3 separate regions of the Homo sapiens genome follow, and regions 2 and 3 are each linked to region 1. The links are contacts of gene promoters, found by promoter capture Hi-C in human tissues and cell types (Jung and others, 2019). All regions are on one chromosome and are shown on one strand. Each heading gives the region's core, a stretch centred on a gene start or on the middle of the fragment in contact. The rest is flanking DNA. Distances are from core to core; before and after follow the strand shown. Region 1 holds the start of PRLR (prolactin receptor). Region 2 has its middle 33 kb from the start of SPEF2. Region 3 overlaps SPEF2 (sperm flagellar 2).

Evidence for each region. Contacts are between HindIII fragments. The study calls those that stand out against the background at their distance.
Region 2: a fragment that was not itself captured here is called in contact with the fragment with the promoter of PRLR in region 1 in 1 of the 25 tissues and cell types used here (H1 embryonic stem cells).
Region 3: a fragment that was not itself captured here is called in contact with the fragment with the promoter of PRLR in region 1 in 1 of the 25 tissues and cell types used here (heart left ventricle).

The regions. Positions count from the first base shown.
Region 1 is chr5:35,227,750-35,231,787 of GRCh38, reverse strand. It overlaps PRLR (prolactin receptor), which reads left to right and starts at 1,301. Exons shown (of 10, transcript NM_000949.7): 1 at 1,301-1,520. The HindIII fragment of the contact is 8,302 bases long and covers 1-4,038 here.
Region 2 is chr5:35,582,408-35,586,329 of GRCh38, reverse strand. No RefSeq gene overlaps it. Among named protein-coding and RNA genes, the nearest start is that of SPEF2, 33 kb to the left of the region's middle. The HindIII fragment of the contact is 5,578 bases long and covers 1-3,922 here.
Region 3 is chr5:35,732,103-35,736,402 of GRCh38, reverse strand. All of the region lies in intron 21 of SPEF2 (sperm flagellar 2), which reads right to left. Among named protein-coding and RNA genes, the nearest start is that of SPEF2, 120 kb to the right of the region's middle. The HindIII fragment of the contact is 3,407 bases long and covers 1-3,364 here.

The sequences.
Region 1 (4,038 bases), core at 52-2,551:
TTGGCAAATGCTCACTGCTAACTGTGATTTCCCAGTTATCCAGAGTAGCAGTCAAATCAAAGGGGAAAGCCTCATGTTTCAATAACTTAAAACAAAACAAAAAAAAAAACGGCCAGGCGCAGTGGCTCACGCCTGTAATCCCAGCACTTCAGGAGGCCAAGGTGGGTGGATCATGAGGTCAGGAAATCAAGACCATCCTGGCTAACAGGGTGAAACCTCATCTCTACTAAAAATACAAAAAACTAGCCGGACATGGTGGCACGCGCCTGTAGTCCCACCTACTCGGGAGGCTGAAGCAGGACAATTGCTTGAATCCAGGAGGCAGAGGTTCCAGTGAGCCGAGATGGGGTCACTGCAATCCAGCCTGAGCGACAGAGCGAGACTCTGTCTCAAAAAAACAAACAAAAACAAACAAAAAAAAAAACTCAGTAACCTTGGTTTAAAGTATTTCCTTGGTGGCCCTCTGGGTTGTGTAACAATCGGATGCATTAATTATTATGGCATCAAATGACACCAGCAACATACATAGTCAGAAATAACTATTTGATTCAGGCAGGTGCTATTATTTGTTTCAGCACTGTTAAATGTGGGGTTTTTGTTTTTGCAAGAGAAAAGGCGGTTGTGTGTGGTTTCAAGAAGAAGAAAAGTCAGAACAACATGCAGCCCATTAGAAAAGATAAATTCTTTATTTGTGGAAAACAACAGAAGTGGGGCTATTTAGGCACCGCCAATGTTTATTATATTCATATGGCAGAGAATAAACACAGCACACTAGAAGTTTGCGCTTTGGGTATTAAAAAAAAAAAAAAGCAAAACCTTCTTAGGTCACTGACTATCTTCTTTTGCTCCTTTCTATCTGACTCCTCAGGCAAGGTGCAATTCAAATCCCTGGAGAACCTCTCAAATATAGCTGCTGTTCAATGTTACTCAGAAATAAGGAAAGAAATTTGACACGGAGACACTCCACATCTTGGCTGCCTGGAAAAATATCATCTTTGAGGTCATTCAACTCACTAAGTCATTTTTATTATTGTTTTGTCTGTCTATTTTCTGGTACAGTCTCAATGAAAGATATGTGGCCCTAATCATGCAAAACCGATCTGGGGGGAATCAGTTGTTTCTTCAGGTCTTCGCAGGATTCCAGCTCCCCCAACTACCTCCGTCGCCTTCTAAAACTGGCAGGCTCTGGACGTTTTGCATGCTGAAGAAAATCACTGTTTTGCCTCCAGCAAGGAACATAAATGTTGCAACACTGACTCCTCCTCTCATGAAGAAAGAGTGAACAAGTGCACCGAGTTGAGCTTCTTCTCACAGAGCCACCGGGCTGGGGACCGGGGAGCGGAGGCTGAAATCCCCAGACGCCGGTTTTCTGGGCTGGGCTTTCTGCCTTACTCACTCCTTCTCCCTCTTTCTGGATTTTACCGACCGTTCGCGAAACAGCTTTCCACACAATGGAGCTTCATGTCCTCGTGCAGGAAGTACTCATCGACTGATGTGGCAGACTTTGCTCCCTGGCAAAAGTGAGTACCCATGGCGAGCTGAGGCCGCCTCCGACGGCGCGCGGCAGGGGCTGCGCGGGCGGCCGCTCTCCGGGATGCGGGTTCGAGGCCCGCGTGCTGAAGGGGAGAGCGGGGCCACCGGCGCGGGCTCCTGGAGAGAACGCCAGCCAGGAGCCAGAGTCGGCAGCCGGCGGGGAAGCCCGGGATCCGCCCGCCTCCCGCCCGGATGTCCCTTCTCAGAGGGGCTAAAAAATACTCTTAAGGTGCTTTGCCTCCACCACTGCCCCCAACCCCAGCTTTTACAAACTGCACTCGGCTCGCATTCGCCTTTGTCAAAGGCATCTTCACCTGTATCCTTGAGCATGAGTTTCGGCGTTGATTGTGGGATTCTCAGAATGCAAATTATTTGCGTCAAAATAAAAAGAAAAGAAAAAAAGAGCGGGGAGGGGGAAGGGGCGCAGACAGGTGATGTGATGAAAGCCGGACTCGAGACTCTCCCATCAGCAGCAGCCGCCGCCGCAGCAGCCTCGCGGGCATCCGGCGGGGAAAGTTTAGGGTTAGCAATGCTGACCTGAAAGGTGTTGCTCCTCCCAAAAGTCAGCGGGGGTAGGGGCAGATGAGCAGCCTCCGGGCCAGAAGCCGGAGCTGGACGGAGGCACCTAGGCAGAGGAATTGCAGCCCGGGAGGAAGCTGGAAGGAGAGCCCGCTGGAGAAGGGAGGAGGGAAGGGAAGAGGAGTTGGTTAAAGTCAGGCAAACTCAGGTAACTGGAGGGCCGGCCCGAGTGCTACGGCAGGGGAAGGCAAGGGCTGGAGTTCTGGCTCTTTGAGTAGAAAACTATCCTTTTAGTGACCTCTACCTGTATCCTGGGGAAGCAACCCACACTGCCCTGAAAACAAGCAACGTAGGGGATTCTATGACTGGACTTGAAAATGGTTGCAAAACATTATTATTAGTCTGGAGGGATCACTTTGTCTTCATTTGTCAAGTTGACCGGGCAAGATTTCCCACCTGAAATCGTGCTTCACTTGACCAGGGAAGTGCTGCTAATCCCAATCCTGACCATCAGCTGTGCAAACTTGGGCAAGATACTTACCCTCTCTGGGCTTCGATTTTTTTTCTGCAAAGTTTAGGGAATTAATTAATTATATATATATATTATAGAAATATATATAATATATATATAAATGTTTAATGAGGTGGAAGTGCTGAATAGTGCAAGAGAGGAGCAGATGAAAATATTAATTTCAGTGGTTCTTAAAAATTAGGGGTGATAGGTCCTTTTGAGAATTAGCTGTGAGTCCTCTTCCTGGGGCAAAATGCATATGGCATGTACATAAAATTTTACATGCAATCCCTGAGGGTTTGTGGATACTCCCTGAAAGCCATGCCTGAATCCCAGGTGACAATCCCTTATTCCTCCTCCTGTATCAAGACCACCCAGCCAACTCCTTGCTGCTGGTTGGGCTGACTGTGGGAGTAATCCACAGCCTTCTTGGGGGTCTGGAGTCAGCCACGCTGCTGAAGGAGACAGCTCCCCTGTCATGGGTGAGCTCCCCACATGCTCTCTCCAGAGCTCTACCAGCCTCTGACTCCAGGGGACCCCTCCTCACAACCCTTTTTAATGACTCTCCTAAGGCGACAGTCCTTACCCCTAGAATTTTCAGTCCCACCAACCCTGGAGAGCCATCTAAAGAGGATCGCTGTCTGAATCAGAGTGCTCTTCAGGTCACCTAGCTGGATGGCAGGGAGGCCAAGGCTTTGTTTGGAAATGAAGCAGTCTTTGCTCCCTGAGGCATAGTATGAGTAGGCAGCCATATTCTTTTGAACCTCTGTACTTTGCCTTTAGAGGACTAAGGACTCACATCTCTGGGGACCCTGGGTGTTCCACTAGCAGTGCCAGCAAGGCACATCAGAAAACACACAGGGCTTTGGAGCTCAACAGACTGGGCTTCAGATCTTGACTCCCACACTGAGCAAGCCTCTGAGTTTTCCTGAGCTTCACTTTTCCTGTCAGCACAATGAAAATAATGCTGCTTTTTTTTTTTTTTTTTTTTTGCATGGTTGTTGGGAGAATGGAAATACTATGAATCATGCCTAGCCCATAGTCAATGATAAACTTTTTCTTAATATTAATGTGGCACCATAAATAAGTGTTCAATAGTCTCATGCTTTTAAGAACAGCTTACTCTCTCTCTCCTATGGGGCTTACATTAGTAGAAGAATGAGTAAAATTAGTTCTGGTCTAGTTATGCACAAAAAGGAGTGGTGGCCTCAGAATACAGAGTCAGACTGGCTGTTCGAATTGTGCAGTGTCAAGGAGAGCACTATGTATTGCCGGCAAGTAAAGTATGTCCAGACCGGCGTGGATACTTGACCTGTCTCTCAGTTCTCTTTTGACCCATAATCTTGAGTACAAAACAGCTAGTGCTGTGCCTGCAGCTAAAAACAGCCAGGCATGGAAAGAAGTGTTGTGGCTGGGTCCATCTTCAGAAACTGTAGAGAGAAATATCTCCATTGTCATCTTTCACAGTTTGGCAC
Region 2 (3,922 bases), core at 471-2,970, 350 kb before region 1:
AATCAAAGTTTTTAGCACAGCATTCAAGAACTCACAAGATCTTCCCTGAATCTACCATTTATCTATGCCCATCACTACAACTATTGTTCTTCACTTGTTGTGCTTCAACAAGCTATCATATCAAAATTTTGCATATCTTTCAATGTCCACATCAAATGTCAACTCTCCTATAAACATTTTTCCTGCACCTATCTTTACTAATAGTTAATCTTATTCTTTTATGTTTTATGGCATTTTATTTATATATCATTTTCAATTAAGAAAAATAGAAACGGGATCTCACTCTATTGCCCAGGCTGAAGTGCAGTGGTGCAATCATAGCTCACTGTAACCTTGAATTTCTAGGCTCAAGCAATCTTCCTGCCTCATCCTCCTTCAATTTTTTACCACCGTATGCCTTTAATTATTGTTATTTGTGCACTTCACTGCTGTTCTTACTAGATTACAAGACCCTTGAAGATAGCGACTATGTCTTATACAACTTTGTGTTTTCCATGTTGACTGATATGGTGTTTTGCATGTAAGAATAACCTAGGAAAATTCAGTACATTTAATTGTTTAATTGAAGGGCAAAAATGAAAAAAAATTTCAAAGGATACTGAAATCACCTTCTAGATTTATCAGATGGTTTTAACAGCAACTAATAAAAAACCCCTAGAAATAATTAAACTCTTATGTCAAGAAAGAAGTAATATACATTTAAAGGAAAGAAAGCCTGTAAGTATTACAAATGCAAGAAAATACAGAATTTGAAGTAAGTAGTATTAAGCAGAAATGGTACCAACCAAGCACAGTACACTGCATTTGTATAACACCTATACCTCCTAAGTGGTTCAAGTTAACCAGTTGCCTTGATGCAGTCAACTTTATGGCAGAAGCCACTCAGACCGGAAATGCTTAGTATATCTTCAAGTCCATAAATGTTGTCATGACCCTTCTCATACTACTACTGTCTTGGAAAATTTTGCCAAATTACTACTCCAAATTCTGCTTAGATACCTTTATACAAACATACCCACCTTTAACTCATTCCCCTGGTAGAGCGCTGTGAAAAATAAGAAATTGAAGATGTTTGTTGTAAAGGTTATTGCATCCAAGCTGAGGATAATTACAGGTTACCATATTGGGACACAAAGTGATTTGTTGTACCTGAAGCCCACAAGCAGAAGTATGTAACACTCACATGCACATCACCTTCAACAGAAGTAGGAAAATCCTTGTACATTGTCTCCTGTACTAAAATCACTTCACTCAGTACAGATAAGACATAATTTCTCAATGAATAATGGAATTATTAGTTAATGCCAGCTTGACCTTTCTATCAATATACCTTTCAGAAAAAAGAAAAAAAAAGCCTGAGTTGTAGGCTTTAACGATCAGCAACACTCTTAAGTGATTTGACAGTAAGAAGCAAGTAAGGTACATTCTAAGGTTTCTTGCTTAGTTGCTTAGGAAATCAAGAACCTCATTGCATTAGAGCTGAGGTAAAGGAAGTCCTGAGTTTATAAAACTCTAGCAAGCAGAGAAAAATAGACAAAAATGAGCAAAATTTCTTAGCTCAAAAGTTTAACAATTTTCTTGTTTTAGAACTAAAAATTCAGTAGTATCAGCTGCCTATAAAATCTATAGAGCAATCAGAGTGAGTAGCCATTATCTCATTTGGTGCAATTCAGAATGACAATTCAAAGCCAGTATAATTTCTATCTATGCTTGCAAGAATGATGAAAAATGTCATGGATGGTTGAAATGTAACTGTCACTCAGGAAGAATATAAAACACTTTCTGAGTGTTTTTGAAAGATCTTATAGTTTTTTTTAATTGAAACTTACGTCTTTCAAATATAAGCTGCACTGGACATCAGTAAAATATCTGGGCAGCCATACAATATCTGTTGAGAATCTCTAGACTCACCTTTTATGGATTGGTAGGATGTCATAGAAGATTTTGGCATTGGTATTCTAACTCAGAAACCTCTTAGCTATCCAAGACACCTTCATTCCTTTATCCTTCTTGTTTGAGCTATGGTCAAGATCTGTTAACAGATCCTTAAGACCAGCTCCCTCTCATCTTTTGTATTCATTGATCTCCACTGATTCTTAGTTAAGGTATTCAGTCCTTCTCACATGAACTGTTATGAGAGTCTTGAAATTGTCCTTTTATTACTCCAATATGCCCATCTTGAATCTACTATTTATACTATAATGAGAGGAATCATCCTAAAATGTAAAACTCACTATGCTGCATCCTGGATCAAAGCTTTGAAATGACTACTGGTTGCCTAGAAGATAAAATACAAGTCTTTTAGTACAAGACATTGCAAAATCTTCTCTGTGTCTACTTCTCCCACCTCAGTATCAACACATTTTCCATTTCCTCCTCTCTCCATTCCTACCATAATCGTCCCTCTGGATGTTTCTCAATTCAACATACTTCATTCCTCCATTCCACTATCCATGCTGTGACTTTTGTCTAGAATACCCCTTTTCCCTTTATTCCAACATATTTTGCAAAACACGGTTCAATATTCTATTTCTCTATGAAGTCTATAAAATTAACCTCACTCTAGAACTGTGCAAATACTTCTATTATGACACCAATAGCAATTTATTTCACTAGCATCTTTAAATGTCCATACTACAGAGAGGTTACAGAGGCAATTCCACAGAAGCATGGAACATGCATGATTGTTTTTGTTTCCTCAAAATGTAGCAAAATAGGCACTCTATAAATATGTGTTTTGATTCCCTTTACTAAGGGGAACTTAACTTATCCAGAAACATTAAGAAACTATTAAACAAGCACTGTTTCTTAAAGAGAATTCACTATACAGTCATGTGTCACTTAACGATGGGGATACATTCTGAGAAATGCGTTGTTAGGTGATTTTGTCCTTATATGACCATCATAGAATGTACTACATAAACGTAGATGGTACAACCTATTTCTCCCAGGCTACAAACCTGTACAGAATGTTACTGTACTAAATACTACAGGCAACTGTAATGCATTGGTAAGCGTTCATGTATCTAAACATAGAAAAGATACAGTAAAAATTATAGCATTATAATCTTATGAAACCATTGTCATAAATGTGGTCCATGATTAATCAAACCATTGTTATGTGGTGCCTGACTCTACTTTCACTGCATTATGGGTAAGGAGTTAGTATGATTCATGGTCAAAATATAATAAACTATACTGGTGGAATGCTAGCTGCCTAAAGACAGTATAGGTACAGTAGTTAAGTATGTATTTTTAGATGCCAGATTGTTTGGTTTTAAATTCTGACTACCTTTCACAAGATGTATAACTTTGGTCAAGACCCTTGAGCTCCCTAATCTTTCGTTTCCTCAGCTATAAAATGGAGATAGTAATACTTATAAGTTTGTTGTAAGAATGAAATAATATAGATCAAGTAGCTTAGATAGGCATTTATATAGAACACCGTAAGCAATCAGAAGACACCAGATATTATTTCTAAAGTAGATGCAGTAGGACAAAGGTATACATGTGTGTAATCTGTGTAAAATCCACTAATTATGTTTCCACAAAGTAATAATACTTTTAGCTGAGGCTATTAAGATAAGGTCTATAACAAGAATACCATGTTAAAGTGCCTATACTCTTTGCAATGGGGAGCCCATGGAGTGTCTGTGGTAACTAACTGACAAGAGTTTCATTTTCAGATCACTGTGTGTAAAACAACTATTGCAGGGATGAGGAAAGGAGTAATTAGAGGAAGGAAAACAAGTAAACATGGTAATATTCTAGGTTAGAGGTTGATATGGTTTGGCTCCACGTCCCCACCCAAATCTCATCTTGTAGCTCCCATAATTCCCACATGTTGTGGGAGGGACTTTGTGGGAGATGATTCAGTTATGGGGGCAGGTCTTTTCCATGCTGTTCTCATGATAGTGAATGG
Region 3 (4,300 bases), core at 412-2,911, 500 kb before region 1:
TAAGGCCTCCCCAGCCATGTGTAACTGTGTGAGTCAATTAAACCTCTTTCTTTTATAAATGACTCAGTCTTGGGTATTTCTTTATGGCACTGTGAAAACAAACTAATACAATCCACCTTATATTTCTGATTTGGCTCCATCTTTCTTCTTTTTCTTAATCTTAAAATATCTGTAAAGGGTATCCATTTTATTTAATAAATAATGTAAAAAAGACTGCATTGACTTGGTTCAACTCTTGGGACCCTCATTTCCTTAAGGATGGACCGCATTGTTGGTATTATCTCCTACAAAGGTGTCTTAATCTTGAAGCTTACGTTGAGAAATAAGGCTTATTTTTTAATTTTATCTTTTAATTCAATTTTTCCACAAGCCTTTTGAAGTCCTCTCATGCCATCTTTTCTTTAATTACCATAGTGTTTGGGACATAGTAGTCCCTGAAGTAATAGTTATTGAATGAATAAATTGAATCATCACAGGTGACACATTTTGTCTCAGTTAGGAAACTGTCTAGCATGAAGAACACGTAGTGTTCATATCAGTGTGATGATGAGTTATTTCTCCGATTACATTTAGAAGGTTCTTTCATTGCTGTGTGCATAATGAAAATCAGAAAGCTTCTTTTATATTTTATTTAATAATGCAAATAAACAATCAAAACCAAGAAATAATCTAAATGAATAAAGCTGAGGATCCATATTATATTTAGTATATTCTTGCTGTACTCATTATTCCCTTATTGGCTGCGCATTTATTCACTCAGGGAATTACACATGGAGACCTTAGAGGTCATCTGGGCTAATTTCCTCTCCAATCAAGAAATGCCAAATGCTACAGATACATTATCTAATCTCCCTGTGGACCTCATGTATGTATCAAGCACAGAATTTCAAGGCAGCCTCCTTCAGTGTTGCACAACTCATGTTACTGGAAAACTTTTTCTTCTGTTGAGCAGAAATTTGTCTTTCTGTAATTTCCACTCAGTCCTAGCTATTCTCTTTGGAGAAGGACAGACTACATTCACACTAACTTTCTTATGGCAGCCTGTCAGATATTTGAAGACTGGTAACATTAGTGAGGAGAGAGTAAGACTGGGATTCAGGATACATGAGATCTGATCCAAGTCATTCTATCATTACTTATGTGTCTTACTTTGTCCAAACCAATGAGTAAATCAACCAAAAATTATTCACTAAGTGGTCATCCTATGTAGGTAGGTACTTTCCTAGGTACTAGAAATTTTGTGGTGAATAAGGCAGAGTTGCTGGCTTTAGGAGCTTATATTCATATAGAAGATAGGAAACAGTGAAGAAGTAATAAGTAATTAGGAAAATCAGTAAGAAGGTAAGTAGTAAAGACCTAGGCAACTTAATTAGCCAATAAAAAAGCAATTCATGGCCGGGCGTGGTGTCTCATGCCTATAATCCCAGCACTTTGGGAGGCCAAGGTGGGTGGATCTTGAGGTCAGGAAGTTGAGACCATCCTGGCCAACATGGTGAAACCCCATCTCTATTAAAAATACAAAAATTAGCCAGGCGTGGTGGCATGCACCTGTAGTCTCAGCTACTTGGGAGGCTGAGGCAGGAGAATCGCTTGAACCCGGGAGGCGGAGGTTGCAGTGAGCTGAGATTGCAGCAGTGTACTCCAGCCTGGTGACAGAGTGAGACTCTGTCTGAAAAAAAAAAAAAAAAAAAAAGAAAAAAAAGAAAGCAATTCACATACTAAGTGTTGTGAAGTGACAGAGGTGCTGCTTTGTTTAGCATGGTCAGGAAAGGCCTCTTCATTAAGCAGCATTGCAGTTGGCATTGAGAAGAAGGAAGATTTAGGGCAAGCTTGTCCAATCCATGGCCTGTGGGTCACAGGCAGCCCATGACAGCTTTGAATGTGGCCCAATATAAATTCGTAAACTTCCTTAAAACATTATGAGATGTTTTTGTGATTTTCTTTTTTTCAGCTCCTTAGCTACCATTGGTGTTAGTGTATTTTATGAGTGGCCCAAGAGAATTATTCTTCCCTTGTGGCCCGGGGAAGCCAAAAGATTGGACACCACTGATTTAGGGGAAGAGCACTCTGAGCAGAAGGAACAGCAGATGCAAAGGCACTGTGGTGGGAATGTTCTTGGCATATGTAACGGAGAGAATGCAGGCTAGTGTTTGCAGGGCTTGGTGAAACAAAGTAGGACTGGAGAAAGATGACATCTGAGAAGTGGGTAAGACCCAGTTTCTGAACCATTCCCAGATTCTATCCCTTCCTCCCTCTTTCCCTATGTCATTGCCTTCCTTCAAGCCTTTATTAGTTCTTGTCTAGAGCAGTATAGGGGCCTCCAAACAGGTCTCTGTGATTCCTTTCAATATCCTTGAATTACCTTCTATTCTTAAAACAATGAACACTTATTTAGAACCTACTTTGTGCCAGATTCTGTTTAAAGGGCTTTATGTGGACTAACTCATTAAAGTCCTACAACAACTTAAAAGATATGTTTCTATTACTCTTACTATTTAAAGATGAGGCAATTGAAGCAACAGAGGTTAAACAGCTTGTACAAGGTCATGTAGCTGCTGAGTGACATAGCTGGGATTTGAACATAGACCAGTCACAATCCACTTTTTTTTTTTTTAAACAATTCACTGTACTGTCTCTCTGAGTTACTGTAGTGAAAATTATTCCAACATGTTACTTTCTTGCTGAAAAACATTCCGTGGTTTCCACTACCATGCAGATGAAGTCCAAACACTTCAGCACAGATTTTAAGATCCTTCTAAATCTGGCACCTGCCTTCCTGTGAACTGCCTCCTAAAGCTGTGTCCTTAAACCTTCTGCTCCTGATGCACTGAGACAATCTCTCAGACTGAGATTCTCTCTTCCTATAATATTCCCTACCCAATGAACTCATACTTTAAAAGGTAATTTGCAGTGAGGGCCTTTTTTGATATTCTAAATAAAATGTATTATTCCCTCCTCTAAGTTGTTATGACAGTTTACAGTCTTGTTATAGAGGAAACTACAAAACTGTGTTGTAATCCCAACACTTTGGGAGGCCAAGGCAGGTGGATCACGAGGTGAGGAGATCGCGACCATCCTGGCTAACACGGTAAAACCCCATCTCTACTAAAAATACAAAAAACTAGTCGGGCGTGGTGGCGGGCGCCTGTAGTCCCGGCTACTCAGGAGGCTGAGGCAGGAGAATGGCATGAACCTGGGAGGCGGTGCTTGCAGTGAGCCAAGATCATGCCACTGCACTCCAGCCTGGGTGACAGAGCGAGACTCCATCTCAAAAAAAAACAAAAAACAAAAAACAAAAAAAAACCTGTGTTGTAATTGGTTGCTTACAGAAATTCCATTTGTCAGGGGGGGATATGTTCCCAGACCCACAGGGGATGCCTGAAACTGAAGATAGTACTAAACCCTATATGTACAATGTTTTTTCCTATGCATACATTCCTATGATATAATTTAATTCATAATCAGGCACAGTAAAATATTAACTAATAATAAAATAGAACAATTATAACAATATACTGTAAAAAAAGTTATGTGATTGTAGGCTCTTTCTTTCTCTTACTCAAAATACCTCATTGTACTGTACTGTGGGTAATTGAAATCATAAAGTGAAACTGCAAATAAGGGGCAACTATTGTTTATGCCTCTGTCTCCAAGTAGACTGTGTCCTTGGACATGGCAATTGCAGCTTGCTTGCTTTCATGTTCCCAGAACTGAGTACAGCATTTGCACATAATGGGTGCTCAATAAATGTTAATATGGATATAACCAGGCTCATTTGAACCCAGTTTTATCATCATATTAAATTTTTTGGAGACTGTATGGCTCCAAATAGTTCTAAAAGCCTAAGATCGTATGTCTAACCGTACCTTAAGGGTTCATGTATCTAAATTAAACATTTACAGTTCTTTTAATGCCCCTCTAACATTATTTCAACACCCTTTCCTGACCTACTTCTCTCTCTGGTTTCTAGTTTGTCATAATCTCTCTTAAAAAAAGTGATATCCATAGTGGTGCTAAAGACCATTTTTAAAAAGCACACCACTAAACCTCCCTCCTGGTCAACTTCAATCCATTAATCAACACTGTGTGCATGAAGAGTTGCCTCCTAAGAATGGGTCGAACTGAATTAATATCCTGCTCACAGCCCTCATTTCTCTACAATGATTTCATGAAGAAATTGTCAAATACTATTTTGAACTCAAGAGATACTACATCTATGGTACTCCCTGATCCCCATATCCAGCCTTGCTCTCAAGGCTAGAGCAGGAATGGGTCAGCTCAACAAGACTTATTCTTGCTG